Linked DNA regions of Homo sapiens: all the other regions are linked to region 2. Evidence: promoter capture Hi-C in 16 types of primary human blood cells and fetal thymus (Javierre and others, 2016). All regions are on one chromosome and are shown on one strand. Each heading gives the region's core, a stretch centred on a gene start or on the middle of the fragment in contact. The rest is flanking DNA. Distances are from core to core; before and after follow the strand shown. Region 1 overlaps MAPRE2 (microtubule associated protein RP/EB family member 2). Region 2 holds the start of ZSCAN30 (zinc finger and SCAN domain containing 30). Region 3 overlaps MAPRE2 (microtubule associated protein RP/EB family member 2). Region 4 overlaps MAPRE2 (microtubule associated protein RP/EB family member 2).

What was found. The method cuts DNA at HindIII sites, captures the fragments that hold promoters and counts their contacts. A CHiCAGO score of 5 or more calls a contact.
Region 1: a contact is called between a fragment that was not itself captured here and the fragment with the promoter of ZSCAN30 in region 2, in 1 of 17 cell types (activated CD4 T cells). The highest score is 5.2, in activated CD4 T cells.
Region 3: a fragment that was not itself captured here is called in contact with the fragment with the promoter of ZSCAN30 in region 2 in 1 of 17 cell types (naive B cells); the score reaches 5.5 in naive B cells.
Region 4: a fragment that was not itself captured here is called in contact with the fragment with the promoter of ZSCAN30 in region 2 in 1 of 17 cell types (naive B cells); the score reaches 5.2 in naive B cells.

The regions. Positions count from the first base shown.
Region 1 is chr18:35,054,160-35,056,859 of GRCh38, reverse strand. All of the region lies in intron 1 of MAPRE2 (microtubule associated protein RP/EB family member 2), which reads right to left. Among named protein-coding and RNA genes, the nearest start is that of MAPRE2, 14 kb to the right of the region's middle. The HindIII fragment of the contact is 2,740 bases long and covers 1-2,654 here.
Region 2 is chr18:35,288,781-35,291,480 of GRCh38, reverse strand. ZSCAN30 (zinc finger and SCAN domain containing 30) reads left to right here and starts at 1,252. Exons shown (of 4, transcript NM_001112734.4): 1 at 1,252-1,397. It also overlaps the pseudogene ZNF271P. RefSeq lists an enhancer at 976-1,135. The HindIII fragment of the contact is 2,453 bases long and covers 356-2,700 here.
Region 3 is chr18:35,123,629-35,126,467 of GRCh38, reverse strand. The region is part of intron 4 of MAPRE2 (microtubule associated protein RP/EB family member 2); the gene reads right to left. Among named protein-coding and RNA genes, the nearest start is that of MAPRE2, 84 kb to the right of the region's middle. The HindIII fragment of the contact is 2,606 bases long and covers 131-2,736 here.
Region 4 is chr18:35,141,123-35,143,822 of GRCh38, reverse strand. It overlaps MAPRE2 (microtubule associated protein RP/EB family member 2), which reads right to left. Exons shown (of 7, transcript NM_014268.4): 7 at 353-2,700. Among named protein-coding and RNA genes, the nearest start is that of ZNF397, 99 kb to the left of the region's middle. The HindIII fragment of the contact is 1,315 bases long and covers 593-1,907 here.

The DNA.
Region 1 (2,700 bases), core at 35-2,534, 230 kb after region 2:
TACTGCAGTAGTTTAACAAATGTTAGGGATAGGGGTCATTACTGAATTGAGAATGTTTTGTTAAACTTGGGATAAAGACAGAACAGTAACAATTAGTTAATAAGCATTCAAAGATAATTAAGAAAAAGGAAATTACCACAAGACCTAGTAAACTTTTTGACTAAATAACTAGAGATGTTACTATAGGCACAAATGTCTAAATAAGAAGGGTCAGTGGATGAAGTAGTTCTAGAGTAGATACATGTGTTAAAAGTTACCCAGTATTTGAGCCAATTTGAACAGATGAAATTTAAAAATTTGGTAAAGTCCCTCCCCATCCTGCCTCCATACCGAGTTTCTAGGTTCCTAGGGTTAGAGACTTTAAAAACATTTTTAAGGAAAAAAAGGTTTGAGTTCAGCAATTGAGTAAGAATTATAAGTTTTCTTTTCTTTTTTTGGCTTTCCAAACCTAAACCAAAAACCTGACAATCACACTGGTTGATTCAATGTCTCAAAAACCTATTTTACTTTATATTATTTCAGCTTTAGCTATTGTTATAATAATAAGCATAATAAACATTTAATATCACAAATATATTAATGGGTTCATTATGTATATTTATATATGTATAATGCTACAAAGGATTAATTATTTAAAGTTAAAATATTTCATTAAAGTTGGATGAGGCAAAGTAACAACAAACTTAAAGTAGGATGCTAGTAAAAATAAAAATCTACAATTTTTTTAAGATGTCAAAGTGCTACTGTTTATTCAAAAAGCCAGATTTTTCTATTAAAAAAATCTGTCCATTTTCACTAATGCAGAAAATACAGATAAAAAATAAAATTAAAATTTCCACTGTTCCATCACCCAGTTATAACACTCATATTCATATCTTCCTAAACATCTTTTTTTTTTTTTTTTGAGACAAGAGTCTTGCTGTGTCACCCAGGCTGCAGTGCAGTTGCATGATCTCGGCTCACTGCAACTTCTGCCTCCTGGATTTAAGTGATTCTCCTGCCCCAGCCTCCCCAGTAGGTAGGATTACAGGCTGGCACCACCACACCTGGCTAATTTTTGTATTCTTAGTAGAGACAAGGTTTCACCATGTTGGCCAGGCTGGCTGGTCTTGAACTGCTAACCTCATGATCCGCCCACCTCGGCCTCCCAAAGGGCTAGGATTACAGGCGTGAGCCACCACATCTGGCCCTAAACATCTTTTATGTGTGTCTGGTGAGGGGTACCTGTGTGTATGTGTTTCACACATACAGTTATTTATAAAAATGGGTTCATATGTATACACACACACACACATACACACACACACACACACACACACACAGAGAACTGAATAGTGTCCCTGCAAGATTCATATCCACCTGGAACCTCAGATTATGACTTTATTTGGAAAAAGGTCTTTGCAGATATGATTAGTTAAGGTGAGGATATACTGGATTAAGGTGGGCCCTCCAATGACTGGTTCCTTAAAAGACGACCATGTAAAAAACACAGATGAAGAAGGCCAGGTGATAATGAAAGGCAGAGATGGGCGTGATGAAGCTGCAAGCCAAGGAGCACATGGGGGCCAAAAGAAGCGGGAAGAGACAAGGAAGGGTCTCCCAGAGCTGTTGGAGGGAGCATGGCCTTACTAACACCTTGGTTTTAGACTTCTAGCCTCCGGCATCACAACTGTGAGAGGATCAATTTGAAGCCGCCCGGTTTGTGGTAATTTGTTATGGGAGCCCTGGAAAACTAATATAATCCATATAAACGTTTGTAATAATCATCTTGCTTCTGTTAACATTGGTACATTTGTGAACTTTTTTCATATTTTCTTCACATGTAATATTTGTATAATACTTAACCGTATAGGTATACCACAGTATACTAGATTTCAGAATTTTATTTTAACATCCTTAATTTCAAGAACTTCGACTTCGGTCATTTCCCCTCTTTGGTTCATTATTATTTCAAGCCAATAGAACTGACGGTCACTTCATTGCGAACTATGACCAAATCATCTCTGCCTTACATAAAAAGATTTTCCAATGTCTTCATGTGATTTTGCAGGGGCTTAGTTGTTTGCTAGTTAAGAGTCCTAAAAGCCAAATGGACATCATCATCTAGGCTCCCTTGTTAACAGGAAAAAAACCAAGTAATCATCTTATCAAAAAAAAGAAACAAACAAACAAAAAAACCCACACATCCTTGGCCATCGTAAACTAAGGGAATCACAGGATGTCCTGTCTATTAGTATTTGGCTTCCGTTCACGGCACATCCTCAAATCAAAAAGAACACTCGCAACTCTCAAGGGATCCTTGAGTGGCTGTGGTCCACTCAGTCCCAACCAGAACAGAGAGAATCATCTGACTGCCGCCACCATGGAGGCAGCGACTCACCTGAAATTCGGCCTGAACCTTTTGGCAATAAAATGAATAAATGTTAAACGAAATAAGTGGCACCCACGAAATCTAGTAGTAGGCCTAGGACATTTGTGAAATCATTAGTGAACTTAAACTTTGCATTTTTGGATTTTGAAACATATGTAGTTAAGAAACTGGCTTTTAGCTGGAAAGATTTCTGAACAGATTCTGGGAGCCAAGGATCCTCATCTTCTCCAAAACGAGGTCCCTCAGTCGATCCTTTTAGGCAAACCTATGACCTTACTAAGCTTTTGTTTCCCAGTCTCTAAATTTTACTTGAGACAATTTCTTCTTAG
Region 2 (2,700 bases), core at 3-2,502:
GCAATGAGGTCATTATACAGGGAAAAATGAATGACTTTGGGGTCTTAAAAAAGTGGAGAGAGCTGCATGAGAATTTGATCGCCAGATTTTGAAATAAAGTCATGTGACTATGCTTGGTACACTAAAGAGGTAATACTGCCTAACAGAGTTAAGGGGGATCATTTGAAGACACTAGCATAGAGTGACACCCCCTCATCCTCCCCACCCCGCCAAAGCCACTAAGAAAGATATAATACCCTGCCTCTCACCTGACAGAAGGTGGTGTTCCTGAGATTCATAATTGAACTGGATCTCCATGGGCTGCAACTGGACACCTCAGTGTGCAAGTGGAGAATTACCATTTCCTCTGTAAGCTTTTCTTGTCCACATAAAGGTCTGGGACCTGGAGGCAACTGGGCACCACTGGGCTTGGAAGGGAATCATTGTGCTGACTACAGATGTAATCTCTGAGACTAGACCACCAGAAAAATCCTCAAGATATAAAAGAAGGAGAAAACAAAAAATCTCATTTGACTTCCAGTTGCTTTTCTCTCAGAATGTATTAGGCTTCCTCCCCATCATCCAAGAGCCAGGGATTAACCCACTTAAGACACACATTCCCCATTCCAAGTCTAGAGATGTTCAAACAAAATTAGGGGTTAATGCTACCAAAAAAAGGTATAACTGGAAAGATAACGCAGAGAGGGGAATTTTACAGTGAATTCTAGTGGTTAACACTATGTTATTCGCTGCCCTTCCTATCCAAAAATGACACTACTGATCATTTTTCTTCCTTTTGCTTTTACAACATTCACAAATTCAGGTGGCTCTTTCCCAGTACGGTAGGCTGATTCGTATGGATGCACCACGGTTGGTGACTCCCCCCACCCCACAGAGTTTCTGGCGTTCATTCGGTTGAACCCAAGGCCAGCAAGGGCTGACTGGGAACAAACCGAACACTAGGCCGTGAACCAATCGTCTCTCCGTGCCCGGGAGCGACCCCGGGGGCCTTCACTCTCCAAGGACTCGAGAAACCATGCACAGTTTCCTGCTCGTTAGGCAAGATCACCCGGAACTCCTCTGCTATCCGCGAGCCGACATCACCCTTACCTCGACTTGGTCACCGGACCGCTGTGAAGCCTCACACCCGGCGAACCTGCCATCGCCCTGTCCGCTCTAGGAATCTGGGAGGAGTGCTCAGCTCTATGGCGCTTCACCGCGCAGGCGCAGGGCGGGGGTGGGGCACCGGGTGACGGAGGGCTGCCGAGAATTAACCCCCGAACCGCCGCGAGCTGTCCCTAGCAGTGCCTTAGCCAGGGACCTGCTTGGCCAGCGACAGATCCTTTGCTGCTCTGTCTGCCGGTTCTTGAGGTGAATGTCGGAATCCATTATCTTTCGGGAAAGCTCTCTGGGGCAGGGTAGGTTTTCTTACTACATACAAGTTCTTAATTAGTTATCGTTTTTTAAATAACCACCCCTCCCCCTATCGCTTATCTGATTCGTAGGTATGCTTTAATTCTAACTTTCTTCCTGTCCTCTCTGGTTTTTCACACCCCCAGAAGAGTAGCGCGCATCAGAATCACCTGGAGGCCTTGTTAAAATACTGACTTCTGCCCCACAACTCCGGAGTTGCTGATTTAGTAGTGGGGGAGGGGGCGGTGGCAGCCCAGGTTCTCAGGTGATCCTGAAGCTGTTGGTCCTGGGACCACATTTTGAGAACCACTGCCCAAGAAATAAGTGATGCTCAGTAATTAATCCCTGAATTAACGGAAAGTTGGATTTTTATCTACTTTGCAATCTAGAAAGGGTACGAGGTCTATTTAAGGTTTGCTTGCTAGAACAATTCTCACTGATCAGGGTGAGAAGGACCCGAAATGGAGGGTGCGGGGTAATCAGGGTAGGAAAGGATATTGCTGTGTTCATGGAAATATCTTGGGAAATGAGGAGTTGGGACCTCATTTCTGTTGAGACCAATGAGACGTGTGACTTGGTTTAAGCTGTCCGGTGGGGAAAGGAAGAGGTTTGAGAAAATGGTGGGTGGCTAAGTGGTAGTTGAGGTGGAGGAAGAGGGCTTCCTGTCCCAGCCCAAGTCCCTGTTGGGATATATGAAATTTAGGGATGTATGACTAAGCCCTTAATATAACCGTAAGAGGAAAGAGATGTGGGAACTTGAGTCCAACCCTCCCAAGTAGGGAGTGCAGATAGTTTTAAAAAAACAGCTTTCTTTTTGGCCAGGCGCAGCTTAGGCCTGTAATCCTAAAACTTTGGGAGGTTGAGGCAGGTGGATCACCTGAGATCAGGAGTTGGAGACCAGCCTGGCCAACAAGGTGAAACCCTGTCTCTACTACAAATACAAAAATTAGCTGGGCATGGTGGTGTGCGCCTTTAATCCCAGCTACTTGGGAGGCCGAGTCAGGAGAATCGCGTGAACCCATGAACCCAGGAGGCGGAGGTTGCAGTGAGCCGAGATTGCGCCACTGCACTCCAGCCTGGGTGACAAAGCGAGACTTTGTCTCAAAACAAAACAAAACAAAACAAAACAAAACAGCTTTATTGAGGTATAACTGACATAAACAGCAAATATTTAAAGGATATAATTTGATAAGGCTTGTTAAATGAATACAGCTGTGGAACTATCACTGCAATCAAAATAATATGTTTATTACATCTAAACCCCAAAAGTTTCCTCCTGCCCGTTGGTAAGCCTCTCTCCCAATGCCC
Region 3 (2,839 bases), core at 184-2,683, 170 kb after region 2:
CAATGACATCTCCATAGCAGTGGCACTCCTGATGCCCAAACTTTGGTTTCTAAATGTTATTCTGCAATAAAAGGGCTTCTTGAGAAATGGCTGATTCTAGGGATGGTGCAGGGAATGTTCAGGGTAAGCTTAGGATATCTTGTGTCAAAAAGCAAGGAGGTGCTCCAGGATTTATATCAAGAGCTTGAAGGGGCTCTCAACTAGTCACACTTGGGACAGCTGAATATCAGGAAGAACAATAGCTTCATTTATTGTAATGCACTGGATAAATAAAAATCTATTAATCTATAATGACTGAAAAAGAGATGGGCTGGAAGACAGGGAGAGGGAGAGGGAAGAGAAAAGAATATAAAGATCTTTTCAATCCTTTTTAAGGAACACTGGCAGCCACTAAATATGCAAGAAATGCTGGAACTAGAAAATAAATCACAATTTTGCAACATCCGTAACTAATAAGCGATTCACAAAGGGCTCGTCATTGGACACGTAAACTTTAGGTGAGAGGGTTTTGGGGAACAAGATATTTACATGTGTTACTCTAAAGGGGAAAACACACCCTTACAATGGGGAGATCTGAGAGTCAGCACCTTAAGGAAGTGATCCACTTAGCATCACTAATAATGTTGTGAAGTGGAAAAAAGAAAAACCATTGGTTTCAGGTAAGACCTCGCCTATCTGGAGCTCAGGTCACAATAGACTCTCACTACCTAGAACAACGCGCAGACACAAGAATGGCCTCTGCGGCCAAAATAGATGTCCCAATGTATACGCAGTGTACTTCATGGATTATGAAATTCCAAGCCACTACTGGGGGCCCGTCCATTCCCTTTTCCTCTGAACACAGTCCCTGTGAAGTGGCATCTCTGTCTTCCACTACCCCTTCAGTGTGGTGCAGGTGTTCCTTCTCTGTGCTCCCACTGGCCTAATTCCCCAACCCCTGCTCTTATTTAGAGCAAGAAACACATCTTACTCATCTTTGTAACCCCAGTGCGTAGCACAATGCTCAGCTGAACATGTATTTGCTTAAAGAGCAAAAGTTTAACTAACTATATAAACAAGTAAATAAAACTTTTAGTGATGCGGTTTCCAATTTTACAGTTTATTTCCAACTTCACAGTTTATTAGTACCAAGAGATTAGCAAGAGCCGAAGGGTTATAAAGACAGGTATGTGACAGCAGTTACAAGTTTCAACCAACATCCTAATTACAAAGTAGCAAACAGAAAGACCATAAAATTTATATTTGTGTCTTCAGGTGCCTGGGGTCATTAGCTCCGGATGCAAGTCACACCCCCTAGAAGCACTGACAGCATTACAGCCTTTAAATATAAGCCTTTCTGTTAAAAATTTTTAAAAAATAAACTTCTTTAAAAACACAGGGAGGTGCCTAATATACTTTAAAATGAGAATGGTTAAATTGGGAAAGACTTAAAATAGTTTGAATATTCTCAGGGTAAATCTGTGCAGAAGAGCTTCCCCAGGGTTCCAGAGAGCTGACGTTTTGCTTTGTGACTGGTATATGGGCTTCAGCTCTGTTGAAGCCCATATAAAACACTCCTGGAACACTACTTCCATGTCCCGCTGACCAAGTTCTTTAACCCAAAGGCAAACCAACTGGGTAAAGAAAACAAGTAGACAAGCAGGCAGGGGAGGCAGGGTGAGGACACCTGATCTGGCAAAGAATCTTCTCTGAGGCAGCCACCAGCCTAACAGCTGGGGAGACAGCTCGGAAATATCAAGTTCTTTCAGATCTTTTTATAAGCAATACCTCATATTTTAATATAAAGGAAGTCTAACAGAAAGCAGTGCGAAGACTACCTATGATCAACACCCCTTACACACATATTTGTTAAGTGCCTGCCATGGGCCATGCACTGGAGGCCCCTAAAAATGCCTAAGATGCAGTCTTTGTTCTCTAGCTCAGTCTCACACAGAGCAACAGCTATCTAAGAATTTCTGGTATGGCACCTTCAATGTTCTCAGGAACAAGCCAGGGTTCTATGACTCCATGACCATCCCATGTGACGTGGTTTGGCTGTGTCCCCACCCAAATCTCATCTTGAATTGTAGTTCCCATAATCCCCACATGTTGTGGGAGGGACCCCGTGGCAGGTAATTGAAGCATGGGGGGCGGTTACCTCCATGTTGTTCTTGTGATATTGAGTGAGTTCTCATGAGATCTGACGGTTTTTTAAGGGGCTTTTTCCCTCTTTGCTTGGCACTTCCTCCTTCCTGCTGCCGTGTGAAGAGGGACATGTTTGCTTCCCCTTCAGCCATAATTTTAAGTTTTCTGAGGCCTCCCTAGCCCTGAGAAACTGTGAGTCAATTAAACCTCTTTTCTTTATAAATTATCCTGTCTTGGGCAGTTCTTTATGGCACTGTAAGAACTAATACACCATGCAAGTCAGGCTGTATTCTCTCTGCCTCCTTCCTGTCCCCTACCTCCTCTGAGCAAGTAGGTCTACCACCCTGCCAGTCTCAGCTCAGATGTCACTTTGTCTGGGAGGCCACAGTGCCCTGAACACTTTCCACTGTTGTGGTACAGCTATTTCTTTAATGTCTACTTCTCCCATGAACATAAACCCTAGGACATAGGTGTTTCATCTGTTTTAGTCACCTTATGCTCTCACCACCAATCACAGTGCCTAACCCAGAGAAATTCAATAATAGTTTTTATAATTCATTATATAAGACCTAGCAGAGGCATCTCTCCAGGGTAAGGACACCAGGGGAAGCTTGAGGAGCTGATGCCAATGTCAAAGTCACAGACACAAAGAACCAGCAAGACAAGAAGGAAACCAAATAAAAACCATCAGCCTCCCAGAAAGAGAGCTCCTCCT
Region 4 (2,700 bases), core at 1-2,500, 150 kb after region 2:
CCAGCACTGTCTTGTCCAGATGGAGTATGCTGGACCTGCAGGAGCTAGGATTCTGTTTGCTTGCAGGTGGAATGTTTCCCAAGGGAATGTTTTCTCTTTATGTCTTTTTTTTTTTTTTTTTGGTAAAGTTTTTAAAAGGTATTATAGCTGCTACATTTGATATCAAATACGAGTCTGTAACTCTTGTTAACAACATTGGCCATCAATAAAAACAAAGACAACCCCCGCCCCGGGGAAATCATAATAAAATGTGGGTAGATGTGTAAATCCACACAAATCTATTCCTATTCACATGCTGACTGAAAAGGGAAGCTTCAGCATAAAAATTTAAGAATCTGTAACTCCAGGCAGATTTTAACATATACTTTTTTTTTTATTAAATATGTAAAAAGATCAATGCAAGTCAAGTTATTCACATATTCAGAGACAAAAAACTATTCTACCATGCGACAATAGGTGGGTAATGTAAAATGAATGTGATACATCTGAATAAGACTTTTTCATCTATTATGTCATTACTTATCTATATTTATAATTAACAATACATATGTTTACATTCCTTTCAGTTTACATTTAATATATAACAAAAGCTTTATGGTGTCCTATTTAGTAAAAGTAATCTGAATGCATATTAAACCTTAACGGAATAATGGAAATACTCACCAGGGAAGGGAAGAGTTCTTGGTTCCCTTCTGGAATTTACTTCTCTCAGGTCAACAGGTGTTTTTCTTTCTTTTTTTTTTTTTTTTTTCCTGCTTTTCTGCTTAGAACAAATATGGGCTTTCTCTTTGCCCCCTGCTTCGATCACTTCCTATCTGACAGTAGCAGTGGAAGTGCTATAACCAGCCGACAGCGGGCACGAGGGGGGGTACTAAGGATGAAACTGGGCTTCCTGAGAGGGAGAAGTGGAGCACGCAATCAGGGACGCTTCCTGCCCAGCCCGATGACATGTGACCAGGGGCCGCTAAGGAAACTGTTCCCTGAATGCCGAGATGAGAGAATAATGGGGTCCCACCATCCATGGGAAATGAGGGGGGATCTGCAGAGGCTGGAGGTGCAGCCTAAGAGGACTGACTCAAATTCAGCTGTTAAAGATTCCCCAAAGCATCTGAGACACCATCTGGGGTGCAGCACAACAGAAGACGTTTAAGATGGGACCAGAAAGAAGAATGTATAGCTCTTCTCTAAATAAACGAATGGTCTGCCCCAAGCCTTCAGGAAGGAGAATGGTCTATGGTGACTGGGGAAAGTTCTCTTTGCAGGCTAAGAGATCTGGCCAGCATGTTTATAACTGAGAAGGCTGGGGAGCTGGAGGGCAATGGAGTGGTTCCTGCAAGAGTCACCAGGGAGGCTTATGCAAGTTATACAGCAGTAAGGGGTTGCTGGAGAAGGCAGGATCCTGACTCCCTGCTACCCACTCACGTGCATCCACATGACAGGAGTTTGGTCATGATCCACTGAGCATTGGGTATGACTGAGATGTCCAGAGCAGATGAAGAATGGCCTAGGAACCACTGCAGTATCAGGTGCATAGAGTTATTGTGACCTTTTACAAGAGCTATTTTTTGTTTTTAAAGAGATCAGTGAGTACAACAGGCTCAGAAGGGCAACACGCTGTTAAGCATGATGCTGGGTATAGCACAGCCACTACTACTTGTGACCAGGTGTGGGAGGACGTCACTGCCGAGAGCCAGGCTGTCCAGCCTTAGAGAAATAAGCTGCTGCTATAATGCAGAGTGAGCAGGAGAGAGAAGAAAGGGAAACCAAACACCACGGAACATCTGTCTAATTCTGCACAGTGTGTTGTAATAATCTGAAAAATACAAGCCATCTTTTCCACATAACTCAATAAATATCACTTTGCTGCAAAAGATTTATTTTGGAGAGACTTCTTTTGGTGAAAAGCTTCAATGCTAGAATTTAGAATTCATATTTCATCGATTAATAAAGAAATTTCAAAGCTTCAGGATACATAATTCAGAAATTTATTTTAAGCTTTTCAGTTAAGCGGAAAGTGGGGTGGGCACATTTGTTTCTTGTTTTTGTTGCACCTGCTAAGTCAAATAACAAGTGAAAGTAAACCTAAAGTTAGAAACCAAGGTGAAATGAATGATCCAGGAAGGGATACCATCTGTCAAAGGAAAAAATAAAAATAAAGAAAAAAAAGAGGCAAAGACTTGGAAAGAGACTAAGAAAATGTACAAATATTAGTTAAAAAATAAGGAATGCTTTTAATTCATTAATGTTTCCTCTATTTATGAATTGCCATGGTTTAGCTAAGGTCAATGACAAGGAGGGCCCTTGTGTTAAAGAGGGAAAATTCTTTATTCTAGAAGATATTGGGAGTCATAGATTTTTCTGTGCTGTTATTCCAGTGTCTACACCAGACTGCAGAACCATGATTCTCCCTCGCAATTATGCTCCTATTAATAAGGTCTTCACTTCTAGCCTTACAGCAAGTGTGTGGCATGGTGCAGAGCCTTGGAGCTCAGGGCTGCACACCTGAAGTTACCCTTTAGTAGGGGTCCCCTAGAGTGAATGACAGTTTTGTGGCTGAAACCTACACAAAGAGGAAGAGGAATGAGGCAGGAAGACCCGTACCTAACCATACCCTCTTTGGACTGCAGAAAACTGATGGCAACATCTCGGGGAGTGGCTGCCCACCAAAGAGGACCCTGAGAAAGAAAAGAGCATAACCTG